Regions from separate parts of the Homo sapiens genome. Here region 2 is linked to region 1. The links are contacts of gene promoters, found by promoter capture Hi-C in human tissues and cell types (Jung and others, 2019). All regions are on one chromosome and are shown on one strand. The core of a region is centred on a gene start or on the middle of the fragment in contact, and the rest is flanking DNA. Distances in the headings are between cores, read along the strand shown. Region 1 holds the start of ALKBH5 (alkB homolog 5, RNA demethylase). Region 2 holds the start of PRPSAP2 (phosphoribosyl pyrophosphate synthetase associated protein 2).

Region 1 (6,947 bases), core at 2,809-5,308:
ATGAATGAAAAAATAAACGAGTGAATGTTGATAGAAAGTGCTGGTGCTTTGGGGAGCTTGTGCGGGGCAGAGAACACTTGGGGAGACTAGATAGGTAGATGGGGGCATAGCTGCAAGATCCATGGCAGCAGAGAAAGGATTTATCTACTTATTCAGCCATTCAATAGCTATTAAATACCTACTGTGAATGAGGCAAATACCAGGCACTGGCAGTTAATCACAGTCAAATCACCGCAAACTAGGATAAGACCTGTGAGTGGGAGTTAGCTAGGGAAAGAGGAAAGAGAACAACATACGCAGGGGCCCTGAGGTGCGCATTACTTGTAGCAGGATCTGAGACTGAAGAGGCCGGCAAAGATGGTTTCGATAGGGCTTCTGGGCTACATTAAGAATTTAGGATTTCTGGGCCAGGCGCAGTGGCTCATGACTGTAATCCCGGCACTTTGGGAGGCTGAGGCAGGCGGATTGCCTGAGCTCAGCAGTTCGAGACTAGCCTGGGCAACACGGTGAAACCCCGTTTCTACTAAAATAAGAATAATATACAGGGGCAGCCTGCCCCTGTAATCCCAGCTACTCAGGAAGCTGAGGCAGGAGAATGGCTTGAACCTGGGAGGCAGAGGTTGCAGTGAGCCAAGATCATGCCACTGCACTCCAGCCTGGGTGACAGAGTGAGACTCCATCTCCAAAAAAAAAAAAAAAAAAAAAAAAGAATTTAGGATTTCTGGGCCGGGCATGGTGACTAACACTTGTAATCTCAGCACTTTGGGAGGCTGAGGCCAGTGGATCACTTGAGCTCAGGAGTTTGAGAGCAGTCTGACCAACATGGTGAAACCTCTCCTCTACTAAAAATACAAAAATTAGCCGGACATGGTGGCATGCACCTGTAATCCCAGCTACTCAGGAGGCTGAGGCACAAGAGTCACTTGCACCCAGGAGGCGGGGGTTGCAGTGTGTCGAGATCGCGACACTGTACTCCAGCCTGGGCGACAGAGCGAGACTCGGTCTCAAAAAAAAAAAAAATTTAGAATTTCATCCCAAGAGCCATGAGCAGCCTTCAAAGGTTTTCCAGAGGGGGAAGGGGAGGCACAACCTGCACAGACTGTACTTTGTTAAAGCCATTCTGACCACTGAACGGTGAGTGAATGTAGGAGTTGGGGAGACCAGAGGGGGCTGCTGCAGTGTTAGCTGGAAAACTTGTCATAGATTCTAGTGGTGGTGATGGGTGGGGAGAAGTTGGTAACTGGGGAGAGATTAGAAGGCCCAGCTGGCAGGACTAGGGGGTCAATCAGACCATCCTGGGATGGAGAGGATCAAGAAAGAGCCCCTGATACAAATGCCACAGGGCTGTCCTGCTTTTCACCACTGCCTTGGGTTGGCTTTCCCCAGAAGCAGACCCCAAGGTGAGGAAAGTAAGGAACTCACCAGAAAGAGTGTGGTGTCAATCAAGTTACCACTGTGCAGGGGCCATGCCTGGCAGCAGCTCACTTAACCCCTGGGGTTCTGCCTGCGGCGCTGATGCTCAGTATAGGGACCCCCAAAACAGAGCACAGTGGGCTCCAACATGAGGCAGCCCTGAGGCCTGCCCTCTGCCCCTCATTTCTCATTGTTGTGAGATCATACATGGTGTGTGTGAGGGGGAGGGGGTGTCAGGCTAATTCTTTTGCCCCAAAACCTTTTCCCTAGTCAAGCTGAACTATGAGGCTCAGGAAGGGATGATGTGGCAGAGTGAAAACGAGGGGGCCCTTTTGGCTTTCAGAATACAACTGGGGCCTCCCACACAGACTACAAGCGGCTTCTTGGAAGTAGATCATCCAGGTTGAGCCAAAATGTGAATCACCTCTTCTCTAGGTTGACACAGCCTCTCCCATAACGGACACTGCATTGGAAGCTTCCCTGTGTTCCTCCCTGACTGCTCTTGAGCTAGGACTCTCCCCTCTCGGAGCCCCGGTGAGGGACAGCACAGATTCTGGAACCAGGCAGCCTGGGTTTGAATCATCACTAGGCCACATACTCGCTGTATGGCCTTGGGCAAGTCATTTCACCTCTCTGGGCCTGTTTCCCTATATATACAATGGTAATAATAATAATGCCCTCCTCATTGAATTGTTTGGACGATTAATTGGGCTAGTATATGCACAGGTCCTGGCACATAGTAAAAACTTGATAAGCTTTTTAAAAAAATGTCCATTCCAGGCTGGGCGCAGTGGCTTACGCCTGTAATCCCAGCACTTTGGGAGGCCGAGGCAGGAGGATCTTGTGCCCAGTAGTTCCAAGACCAATTTGACAACATGGTGAAACCCCATCTCTGCTAAAAACAGAAAAATTAGCGGGGTGTGGTGGTACACGCCTCTACATAGTTCCAGCTACTCAGGAGGCTGAGGTGTGGGAGGATGTCTTGAACCCGGGAGGTCGAGATTGCAGTCAGCCAAGATCGTGCCACTGCACTTCAGCCTGGGCAACAGAGACTCTGTCAAAAAAGAACGAGGAGGAGGAGGGGAAGGGGGAGAGAGAGAGGGAGACGGGTGATAAGGAACTGGCATGGGCAACAGCCATGGCAAACAGCCTGGGCAAAGGCCAGGAGGTGAGACACAGTATGTTTGTAGACCTGGCTTACAGGATGAGGACCAGGCTGGGGCTCAGTGTACATGGAAAGAGAGGAGAGGAGGAGCCAAGGCCAGAAGAGTCTTGAAGAAAAGCTTTGAGTGCCAAATAAAGCAGGGGAACTTTATCCTGGGAGACATGGGAGATTTTCCAGCAGATCCCCCCCGACCCCCATTTGTTGGAGCCCTCCAGTGCATCCTGCACGGCTACGCCTTTTTGTTTTGTTTTGCAGCTCTGTCGCCCAGGCCGGAGTGCAGTGGCGCCAGCTCGGCTCTCTGCAGCCTCAATCCCCTGGGCTCAAGGGATCCTCCCACCTCAGCCTCCTGAGTAGCTAGGACCATAGGCGCGCGCCACCACGCCCAGTTCATTTTTAAAAATTTTATTGTAGAGATGGGGTTGCCATGTTGGCCAGGCTGGTCTCAAACTCCTGGGCTCAAGTGATCCGCCCGCCTTGGCCTCGCAAAGTGCTGGGATTACAGGCGTGAGGCCCCGCGCCCGGCAACGCCTTTGCTGACTGCTTCAAAACTTTTTTGAATTGACTGTAGTCATTATCTATAGCTTAGCCTTAGCCTTGCGCCCGTTCGTTTCCTGGAGTTTTCTTCCAGAGTCCCCGTAGGAGGTGCCCCCACGCCCATCTCCAGCACCAAGGAGGCTCGACGCCAACCCCAGCGCGCCCCCACGCTCGCCGTCACCGGGACGTGACTCGTGAAACGTCCGCTCCGGGCGGCGGCGGCAGCGGCGGCAGGCTGGCTTGTACCCCGACAACGCGCGTCTGGCTTCTGCCGGACGTTCCTATCTGGGTTCAGAACTGGGGCCGGGTGCTGCAGGTCCCGCAGTCTGAGAAGTTTTCGCGGGTTTCAGAAGTTTCCTTAGGCGTTCTAAGGGCTTTACTCAGGTGGAGTCTCCATTCAGGCACTTATTTAACCACCCATTTCTCCTTTAGGGGTCCTCGCTGCTCGCCCAGCCGCTAATTAAGTGACGGACACAGTAGCTAAGGAGACTGCCTGATTGACACGCATGATTACCAACCGACTTCCGGAAACTCCAGTCAGGGCCTGCCCGGCGCGTGGCCCACGGCCCAATTAAAGAAGTGGAAGCGCCAAAGGGGGAGGTAACGGAGCGGCCTACGTTGTGGCGGTTCCCTGGTGAATGCGCCCTGGGGTTGAGGCGTCTGCGGGCGTTCGGACGATGCCGTGACGCGGCACGGCGACACTGTTGGCAATATGAGCGCACCCCTGTAGAGGGAGCCCTTCGGTCCTGGAGGCGGCGCGGCGTGAAGACAGGTTGCTATTTGAGAGCGTTCCCTTGAAGCCCCTCAGAGAGTGGGGGAGGGGCGGCGGACGGCAAGCGGTTCCTGTCTGCGCTTGCGCCGGCGCCTCTGCCGACCCGGCCTGCACGCACGCGCATGCCCGTAGCGCGCGGAGCCGCGGTGGCCGGCAGCACTGCGCGTGCGCGGTGAGGAGCCCGCTAAGGAGCGGCGCTGGCGGACGTCGGGCTGGCTGCCCGTGACGTCGTGCGGAGAGCTTTAAAGTGCGGGCCGGGCCGGGCGTCCGAGGGTCTGGTCGGGAGTCGGGCCGCGTCTCCGCAGCAGCCCTCCGCGGCATGAGGCGCTGCCGGCGCCCCTGCCCCGCGGGACGTGGAGAAGGTGGAGGAGGAAGAAGCCCCGTTGTCGCCACCGTTGCATGACCCGCCGCTCCTGAGGCCCTACCCCACGCCCGGACCCTCGACGCCCCCCGCCGGGTCCCCCACTCACGCATGGGGGTTCGGCGCTAAGGACCCCCCTCCCTCCGGGGGCCCCGGGGCGCGTCCCCTTAGAGCCATGCCCGGCTGCCCCGCCCGCCCCGGAGGACCCTAGAGCAGCGTCGTGGGGGCCATGGCGGCCGCCAGCGGCTACACGGACCTGCGTGAGAAGCTCAAGTCCATGACGTCCCGGGACAACTATAAGGCGGGCAGCCGGGAGGCCGCCGCCGCTGCCGCAGCCGCCGTAGCCGCCGCAGCCGCAGCCGCCGCTGCCGCCGAACCTTACCCTGTGTCCGGGGCCAAGCGCAAGTATCAGGAGGACTCGGACCCCGAGCGCAGCGACTATGAGGAGCAGCAGCTGCAGAAGGAGGAGGAGGCGCGCAAGGTGAAGAGCGGCATCCGCCAGATGCGCCTCTTCAGCCAGGACGAGTGCGCCAAGATCGAGGCCCGCATTGACGAGGTGGTGTCCCGCGCTGAGAAGGGCCTGTACAACGAGCACACGGTGGACCGGGCCCCACTGCGCAACAAGTACTTCTTCGGCGAAGGCTACACTTACGGCGCCCAGCTGCAGAAGCGCGGGCCCGGCCAGGAGCGCCTCTACCCGCCGGGCGACGTGGACGAGATCCCCGAGTGGGTGCACCAGCTGGTGATCCAAAAGCTGGTGGAGCACCGCGTCATCCCCGAGGGCTTCGTCAACAGCGCCGTCATCAACGACTACCAGCCCGGCGGCTGCATCGTGTCTCACGTGGACCCCATCCACATCTTCGAGCGCCCCATCGTGTCCGTGTCCTTCTTTAGCGACTCTGCGCTGTGCTTCGGCTGCAAGTTCCAGTTCAAGCCTATTCGGGTGTCGGAACCAGTGCTTTCCCTGCCGGTGCGCAGGGGAAGCGTGACTGTGCTCAGGTAACCCACCCGGGTGGAGGGGGCGGCCCTGCGCCTGCTGCCTTAGCTACCCACCCTGGCCCAGAAAGCAGCAGCCCGTAGGAGTCTGCGTTTTTTACAGTTCTGACCAGTTCTTCTGTTTGTAGATTGTAGGGAGCGAGAGAAGGGTTTTGTGTTTAAGATACCTATAGCAAGAAAATAGGGAACCGATGTGGAAATCCTGTCCCCGAAGGCAGGTTTGACGGGATCACTGACTTGGCTGAGAATTCATCGAAAGCCATCTTTTCAGAAGGCTGTTCCCTTTGATTTTTTTTTTTCCCACCATCCATTTCTTAGCATAAGTCCCTTTGTGATTTTCCGGTTTTCCATTCTGGCCTTCCATTTACAAATCTATGCTTTAAAATTTTTTTTTTTTTTAATTTATCTAAAAGTCTTTCTTGTTCTGCCATTTTTGGATTCCTTAACAGAGAAAGTAGTCACAGGCAAAGGCCCCAGAGATTATTTAATTGAAGCACATTCTCCATTCCCAGGAGGGGGAGTGACTTCCCTGGAGTTGAACAGATTAGTGGTTGGGCCAGGCATACAGAGCAGCACACTCTTAAAATTCTTCCCTCCTGGCTGCAGAAGAGCCCATCAGTTCTTTGTAAGAACGTGTTACTTGTAGTCAGGACTGAATACAACAGAATACAGCTGGTCTCTTGACTGTTTGGCCTTACAGTTGCGTGAGCAGCAGAACTTAGGCTTTTGGCCTATATTCGGTTCCCAGATCCTGCTGAGAATTAGCTCAGTGCCCTGGCCCCCAGAGGAGATTGCCATTGGGAACACCTTTGCTGTTTATGTGAAGTGAAAATTTATTTGGAAGCGGCCTCCTTCCAGTCCTGAAAAAGGTAAACCTAGTAATGTAATTCAGTAATACCCAAAACATCTTAGGTTTAGACCGCAGCTGTTCTCAGAGCAGCTTGGTTGACCACCACCAAATACAAGGTTGAGGACACACTGGGCTTTTGTCGTGAGCAGCCCAGGTTCTGAAGTGAGTCAGTAGGGCCAAAGTCATGAGGAGAAGCAGGGTCCCTGGAGCCTTCTTGATATGAGATTAGGTCATCTGTTTCATTTGAGTCTAACAGCTGAGGCTGCTTCCATGTTGGGGATGGCAGCAGAGCCTTGTAATGTCCAAGACGTCCTGGTGGGAAGGTGGGAAGTCAGTAGTAGCAGAAGCGATACTTTAGCTCTTTAGGCATCTGAAACTTAGAGGACAGCCTAGCTGTCAGATGCCTTCTTATAATGGGCTTCTGAGCTTCTCAGATCTTCATGGCGCTCCTAGATGGATGTCTTGGCAAAATGCTTTAAGATGGGATTTCCAGGACACACCCTCTCCGGGTGCTTGCTGTGTAAGGCAGGTTGGGGTCTGACCCCATTGACGGGTTCTCAGTGCAAAAATTACCTCACACAAGGACCATTTGGTCTCTTAGCGGGATATTAATTTTCTGCGTAGTCATTGGCCCTCAGGGTGGTTGTCAGGAGGTCTAGTAGTGGTCTGGTGCTTAATGAGGGGATCACAAGGCATTTTTTTTTGGTTTTGGGACTACTACTCTCCTTAACACATGCCCACCCTGTATTTTAAGAACAGAAGTTTCGAGTTCTTAGTATGCAGGTCTGTTAGTGATCAGCAACAGGATTGCATCATCAGGAAAATTCTCTTCATCTTTTCCTCAGAATAGTAAAGT
Region 2 (6,947 bases), core at 2,735-5,234, 670 kb after region 1:
TAGCTTATTGGATACTAAAGCAGGACTTTGTTAAACTCTTAGCATGCAGTGGATCATCTACTATGGTCACTGTATGAGGTGGGTGCTTTGCCATTCCCAGCTGTAGCCCCAACCCTCAGCACTGGGCCTGGCATGAGTTAAGTACTTTATTGATATTTGTTGAGTAAATGAATGGAGGTAAAAGTCAGCTAGCAAGGCAGCCAGGGTAGCTACAGGCAGCCTGATTTGGACAAGTAATTTTATTTTATTTTTAATTTATTTATTTATTTTGAATCTCTGAAAGAGTTTCACTTTTGTCGCCCAGGCTGGAGTGCAATGGTGTGATCTTGGCTCACTGCAACCTCTGCCTCTTGGGTTCAAGCGATTCTCCTGCCTCAGCCTCCTCAGTAGCTGGGATTACAGGTGCCTGCCACAACGCCTGGCTAATTTTCTTGTATTTTTAGTAGAGATGGGGTTTCCCCATGTCAGCCAGGCTGGTCTTGAACTCCTGACCCCAGGTGATCTGCCTGCCTCGGCCTCCCAAAGTGCTGGGATTACAGGTGTGAGCCACCACACCTGGCCCGTGGACAAGTAATTTTAAAAGCCCAGAAAACATTGACTATTCACTTGGACAAGCTAAAAATAATGGATGGTGCCTGGTGTTGGTGAAGATGAAGAGACATGGATGCTCTTCCACCTTCCTGGTGAGACTGTAAATTGGTACAAAATTTCAGGGAACAAAATTTTAAAAGGGCATATCCTTTGACCAAACAAGCTTACCTCTAGAAATTTAACGTGAGGAAATACTTGGGCAAAGGTAGAAAGACAGGTTATGTATTAATAGTAAAAAGTGCCCAGAATGAGGGATTAGTTAAGAGAAAATAATGGTTCATCCATATCACAATAGCTCATAATCGCTGCGGTTAATAGAAAGTGGTAGTCAACTGTGTGCCAGATAACTCAAGTGGTCATCAAGATTCCCCTATGACATAGATGCTGTTATTATTCCTATTTTGTAGATGAGGAAACAGGTATAGAGAGGTTAAGAAACTTGTTGAGGTCACACAGCTGGTGAGGAGAGAAGGAATTTGGATCTAGGCGCTGGTTCCCAAGACTACAGTCTTTCATTCACAGCTCATATCATGATGATGTCGACCTGAATTCATCAACATGGAATCATGCCTGCAATAAATTGTTACAGGGAAAAGGCATATTGGAAAATTCCAAGAGTGGCTACCTCTCCACATGGGATAATGGCAAATATCTTTTTAATTTTTTCTTCTTTCTCATTTGAATTTTTCTTACAATGTGTAAATATTATTATGCTTACAAAAGACAATGAAGTTCTTAGTCCCAGCTGCTGGGGAGCTGAGGCAGGAGAACCGCTTGAACCCAGGAGGCAGAGGTTGCAGTGATCCAAGATCGCGCCACGGCACTCAAGCCTGGATGACAGAGTGAGACTCAGCCTCGGGAAAAAAAAAAAAGACAATGAAGTTCCTTTCATTTTGGGGGAAAATAGAAAAAGGAGAAAAGAGGACGGGCACAGTGGCTCATGCCTGTATTCCCAGCACTCTGGGAGGCCGAGATGGGTGGATCACTTGAGGTCAGGAGTTCGAGACCAGCCTGGCCAACATGGCAAAACTCCATCTCTAGTAAAATTACAAAAATTAGCCGGGTGTGGTGGCATGCACCTGTAGTCCTAGCTACTTGGGAGGCTGAGGCAGGAGAATAGCTTGAACCCGGGAGGGTGGAGGTTGCAGTGAGTCAAGATTGCGCCACTGTACTCCAGTCTGGACAACAGAGCAAGGCTCCATCTCAAAAAAAGAAAAAAGAAAAGAAAAAGGAAAAAAGCTGGAGGATGCAGGAAAGGACTCTATAGGAACTTCCAAGGCCTCCTTGGCTGGTGACCTGGCTTTGGCCTCCGCTGCCTCCTACAGCCAGGCAAGCTGCCATCCTCTTCCACTGGGGAAAAAGGGGTGCCTTGTTTTTCTTCCCTGATAGCCAGACAGGCGAGAGCAGAGAGGCAGCTGCAAAAGCTTCCTCGGTGCCTCATACTCATGGACTCCATCTAAAAGTAACTCCTCACCCCCAACCATCATATGGCTGCTAATATTAGTGCTCATTTTTCCACTGAGGAAACAGAAACTTAGAGAGGTGGATCTGTCCAGGGTCATTTCCACAATGAGGACAGGAGGCAGGAAGCAGGCTCCATCCTAGTGATGGACACCTAAGTCCCTGTTTTTTCATTTGCACAACCATTTGAAGGAGAATCCTGTGTTTTTTGTTACACCATACTGCTCAAAAATTTCTATCAAACTATAGCAAAGATTCCTTTCCTTCCTTTAAAAAATGTTGAAGGGAAATGTCTTAGACTTGAGTATCTTGATTTATAGTCGATATACAGCAGTTTAGCCCTTGAATATGGCCAATGACGTGTTGCAGCAAGCTGAGCACTTCTATTACATGCAAAGACTCTGACTGCAAACATCCAAGTGGGCAAGGGATTATCAAGTTTAGCAATGGACTAACCAAAAACTGCATTCGTGTGGAACTGACCACAAGCTTTACATTATGCTTTTGCTCCTTTCTTGCTCATTACCCATTGTATAACAAAATATGCCCAGACTTGGGCTTTAATAAAAAATTTCTTAGCTCTCAATTTTTTGTGGTTTGATTGGTCTTAGCTAGGTGGCTCTTGCTTAGGGTCTTTCATAAAGTTGCAGTCAGGTGGTGGCTGGGGCTGCAGTCACCTGGTGGGTCAGCTTGGCTGAACACCTACCATGGCACACTCCTATGGCCTAAACCCCAAGGATAAAGAGAATGAGAGTTTTGACATCAGCCTACAAGGGATTTCAATAGTCCTTGGAGAATGGATGGCGGATGGAAGAGTGGTATTGCTATAACAGAACAAATGAAACTACAAACTAAGTGCCTGCAGTGCGGGAAACTATTGAGGAGCAAGCCACCCCACTGCAGAACCCTGGACGCGGTGATACACTGGAGCTAGCTCATTCTGGTTAATGAGAGTGGATTTTTTAAAAAATTCAAGGCCAGGTGTGGTGGCTCATGACTGCAATCCCAGCGTTTTGGAGGTCGAGGCGGGAGGATCACTTGAGCCCAGTTCGAGGCGGCAGTGAGCTATGATTGCACCACTGCACTCCAGCCTGGGCAACAGAGCAAGACTCTGTCTCTTAGAAAAGTTTTTTTTTTTCCAGTAATATTATTCTTGTATGGTGCAAACACTATATAATGCTGCGCTACTGCCCATTTTCTTTCCAGAAAGGATAAGGCACTCAATTTTCCAGACATTTCTTGAGTACCATACTTGTGCCAGGCCCTGGGAAACAGTGATCAGCAGGAGGGACGAAGAGCCCACCCTCATGGGGCTTACAGTGTACAGGGGCTGAGGTGGTGATATTTGTCAAATAACCACCCAAACACTTAATTAGAAATCGTGATAAGCCCAATGAAAGAAAAATACATGAAACAGTTTTATTTGGGAAGGGAGTGGTTTAGGGAAGACTCGAAAGTGACAATGGAGCTATCAAGTTCAAGAAGGAGTTAGTAGGGGAGGAGGCTGCAGGAAGAAGTGCACGCCTGGAGGCAGGAACAGCATGTGTCCCGGTAGTTCAGGGTGGCGGGCCCAGGCGGGTGAGAAAGGGCAATGGAGAAGGAAGGAGAGGAGACCGTGCAGACACTGCAAGTGCCAGAAACCCGATCCACACTGGCTTCAGAGGGTGGAGGGGAGGTTCTTCTTGGCTTCCATAATAGAAATGTCCAGGGACCTACCGACTTCAGATTCAGCGCAAACTCATCTGGGCCCGGTCTGTATCCCTCCCTCTCTTTTCTCTCAGCACTTTCCTCAGGCGGTTCCCCTCCTGGCATCCCAGCAGCTGCAGCATCAGCAGGAGAGAGTAAGCCTCTCCAGTCCCGGCGCAGGGATGGAGACGGTGTTTCGTGGGCTCCGATTGGCTCAGTAGCCTATCTTTGGAGCGAATCAGCGAGCGGAGAGGGATGAACTTCTCTGACTGGCCAGATCCAGTCACATGCCAACATGTGACGCGTGGAATCTACGCCAGCCACAGCAGAGAGGTGGGGGTTGTGACCGGAGTTAGATGCCAGCGCAGAAGGGACGTGAGCCCAGCCGAGGTACCGCTGAAGAGGAATCAATTTTGGTATGCAGATAATCACTGGGCTCATGGGTCTTGCTCTTTACAAAGAGGTATGTCCCTGTAAAGTTGTCAGGCAAAGGAAATGTTTCAAACGACTCCATTTCACGAAGTCTCACCTAATTTACAATTCGTTAGTTGAGATGCTTGTATTCTTCGTTTCTAAAATAAGACGTTGAACCATAAAGACTCTAGCTAGCTCTGCAACCTCTGATGAATATTTCATGCCTCATTATTGTGAAAAATCCAAAGCAGAATTGGAGAGAAGATGTGGTATAGGGATTAGGTAAGTGAAGACTGGTGCAAAGCCTCCTGGGTCGAAATTCTGTCCACTGCTTTGTCATTGGAAAAGTTATTTAACGTCGTCGTCTCAGTTCCCACAACTATTAAAATGGAGAGGATAACAACACCTACCTTATGCTCTTGTGAGGATTAAATAAGTTACCGTTAATATATGTAAAGCACTTAAAAGAGGACCATGTGTTTGCTATTATTATGTTATACATACAATAAAGAGTAAACATTACCTAAGTTATAAAGAACTTAGGCAATGGATACCAAAAGTACTAATTCCTTTATAATAAAAGAAAAAAAGGCGACAAGGCAAATAACGATAATAACTGATAATGGCTGGGCGCGATGGCTCACGCCTGTAACCCCAGGACTTTAGGAGGCGGAGGCGGGCGGATCACTTGAGGTCAGGAGTTTGAGAACAGCCTGGCCAACATGGTGAAACCCTGTCTCTACTAAAAATACAAAAAATTAGTCGGGCGTGGTGGCGCACACCTGTAATCCCAGCTACTCGGGAGGCTGAGACAGGAGAATCGCTTGAACCCGGGAGACGAAGTTTGCAGTGAGCTGAGATCGCGCCGATGCACTCTAGCCTGGACAACAGAGCGAAACTCCGTCTCAAAACAAAAAACTAACAAACGAACAAAAAACTGATCATTTATTATACACCCAGAACTGTGCTTTTAGCACAGTTTTGTTTTGTTTTGTTTTGTTTTTGAGATGGACTCTTGCTCTGTCACCCAGGCTGGAGAGCAGTGGCGCGATCTCGGCTCACTGCAACCTCTGCCTCCCGGGTTCAAGCGATTCTCCTGCCTCAGCCTCCTGAGTAGCTGGGATTACAGGCGCGCACCACCACGCCTGGCTAATTTTTTTTTTTTGTATTTTTAGTAGAGATGGGGGTTTCACCATGTTGGTCAGGCTGGTCTCGAACTCCTGACCTCGTGATCCGCCCGCCTCAGCCTCGCAAAGTGCTGGAATTACAGGCGTGAACCACCGCGTCTGGCCGTATTGTCTCATTTAATCCTCACAACAGTCTTATGGAATGGGTGCTGCTATCTTTGTTTTTCAGATGAGGAAACAAGCTCAGAGGGTTGAAATGACTTGTCCAAGGTTACAGGCCAGTGGAGGCTTGAACCCAGGTATTTGTAATTCCAAATGTCATACTCTGTCCACATTCATTCCTTGTAACCTGCCTGGGCTGTCACAGTTGGTGTGGGGCTAGCAGCTCCCCAGGGACCAAAACAGGCGCATCCCCGCCCACCGCCCCGCCCATCGTGCCAGCCCGACTCCACCCCTGTGGCTACACCCACTGCCCCGCGCCTTACCCACTGGTGGGCCACGCCCACAGCCCCCAGCTAGGTGCCTCCGCTGTCCGGGCTCTAGTCCCGCCCTCGCCCCTCCCCGCCCACCGGCCTCGCAGTCACCGCGGACGCCAATCTTGTGCATGGAGTCGCCATTTTGCTCCTAGAGAGGCCGCCAGGAGACCCGGCGCTTTCTTCCTTCTGCAGCTGAGGCTGCGGCGGGGCCGGGGCTGGGGTCGGGGCCAGGTAGGCGGGCGGGAGCCAGTGGCGAGCGGCAGCGAGGGCTGGCTGGCTCCGGCATTGCGGGGCGCAGGTGCAAGGGGCGGGGAGCCCGCGGCGCCGGCAGGCGGACGGGTCGGGGTCCCTGGGTGGTGGCTGCTTGGGGGCTCACTGGGGCGATCTCGCGCCCGCGGCCCTTCCATTTTTCCCTCCCTTCTTCCTCTCCCGCCAGGGGTCGGCGGGGGCGGGGGACGGGCGTCCGGTGCCTGGGCTCTCTCCTCTCCCTGAGGCGCCGCTGGGGAGTCGAACCCTGATGATGGGACCTGTGGTGAGCAGCCCTGAAAGCAAGCCCAGACCCAGCCATTCTCCGTCCCTAAGCTGACACGGAGCCCCTGATTTTAATTTACCTGGCTTTGCTAGTTACGAATATATCTCTCACCTCCTAAAGGATGATTTTATCCAACTCAGAACTCACCCCAGCAGAGATTGAGGGGGAACCGTGATGAAATTTTTAAGTATTCTGCTTGATGATAATAATTTTTCTCTTATGTTAATGTTGGCTCCGTTTGGGTGTTTAGCTTTTGAAAGGAGTATGAAAATGCGGAATGGGGCTTTGGGGCTTGAGGTGTGATCTCTAGTGTTTAAAAAATTTAATTGCACAAATAGAAATAATTCACCCACATTATTGAACCCCACTAAAGCATATCCTTTTTGTCCATATTCCTTTCCTGCTGCCCTCGTGTGTACCATTATTACTCAGTTGTGATTTGAGCTCGTTCCACTTAAAGTCATTCATAGATACTTTTGCGTCGTGTTGAATATTTATTGAATTTCTATTCTGTGTTTTACTTAATTACTTTATTATGGAACCTTTACACAGGTCTGGTGTACTTGTTCTTTGAAAAGTCTTATGTTGACCACCATCACTGAGCATATAGCTTTTTCCTTATTTCCTTGGGATAATTACCCGAAGTGGAAATACCGAATC

Evidence for each region. Contacts are between HindIII fragments. The study calls those that stand out against the background at their distance.
Region 2: a fragment that was not itself captured here is called in contact with the fragment with the promoter of ALKBH5 in region 1 in 1 of the 25 tissues and cell types used here (spleen).

Annotation. Positions count from the first base shown.
Region 1 is chr17:18,179,770-18,186,716 of GRCh38, forward strand. ALKBH5 (alkB homolog 5, RNA demethylase) reads left to right here and starts at 4,059. Exons shown (of 4, transcript NM_017758.4): 1 at 4,059-5,244. The coding sequence starts at 4,475. MYO15A (myosin XVA) reads left to right here. Exons shown (of 66, transcript NM_016239.4): 66 at 1-31. RefSeq lists silencers at 1,726-2,020, 4,157-4,456, 4,537-4,626, 4,785-4,936, 6,160-6,209 and enhancers at 3,447-3,646, 3,707-3,946, 4,054-4,891. The HindIII fragment of the contact is 6,004 bases long and covers 2,433-6,947 here.
Region 2 is chr17:18,852,276-18,859,222 of GRCh38, forward strand. It overlaps PRPSAP2 (phosphoribosyl pyrophosphate synthetase associated protein 2), which reads left to right and starts at 5,856. Exons shown (of 12, transcript NM_002767.4): 1 at 5,856-5,986. RefSeq lists enhancers at 3,707-4,207, 3,726-3,775, 3,796-3,855, 5,635-6,207 and a silencer at 5,954-6,313. The HindIII fragment of the contact is 3,412 bases long and covers 2,279-5,690 here.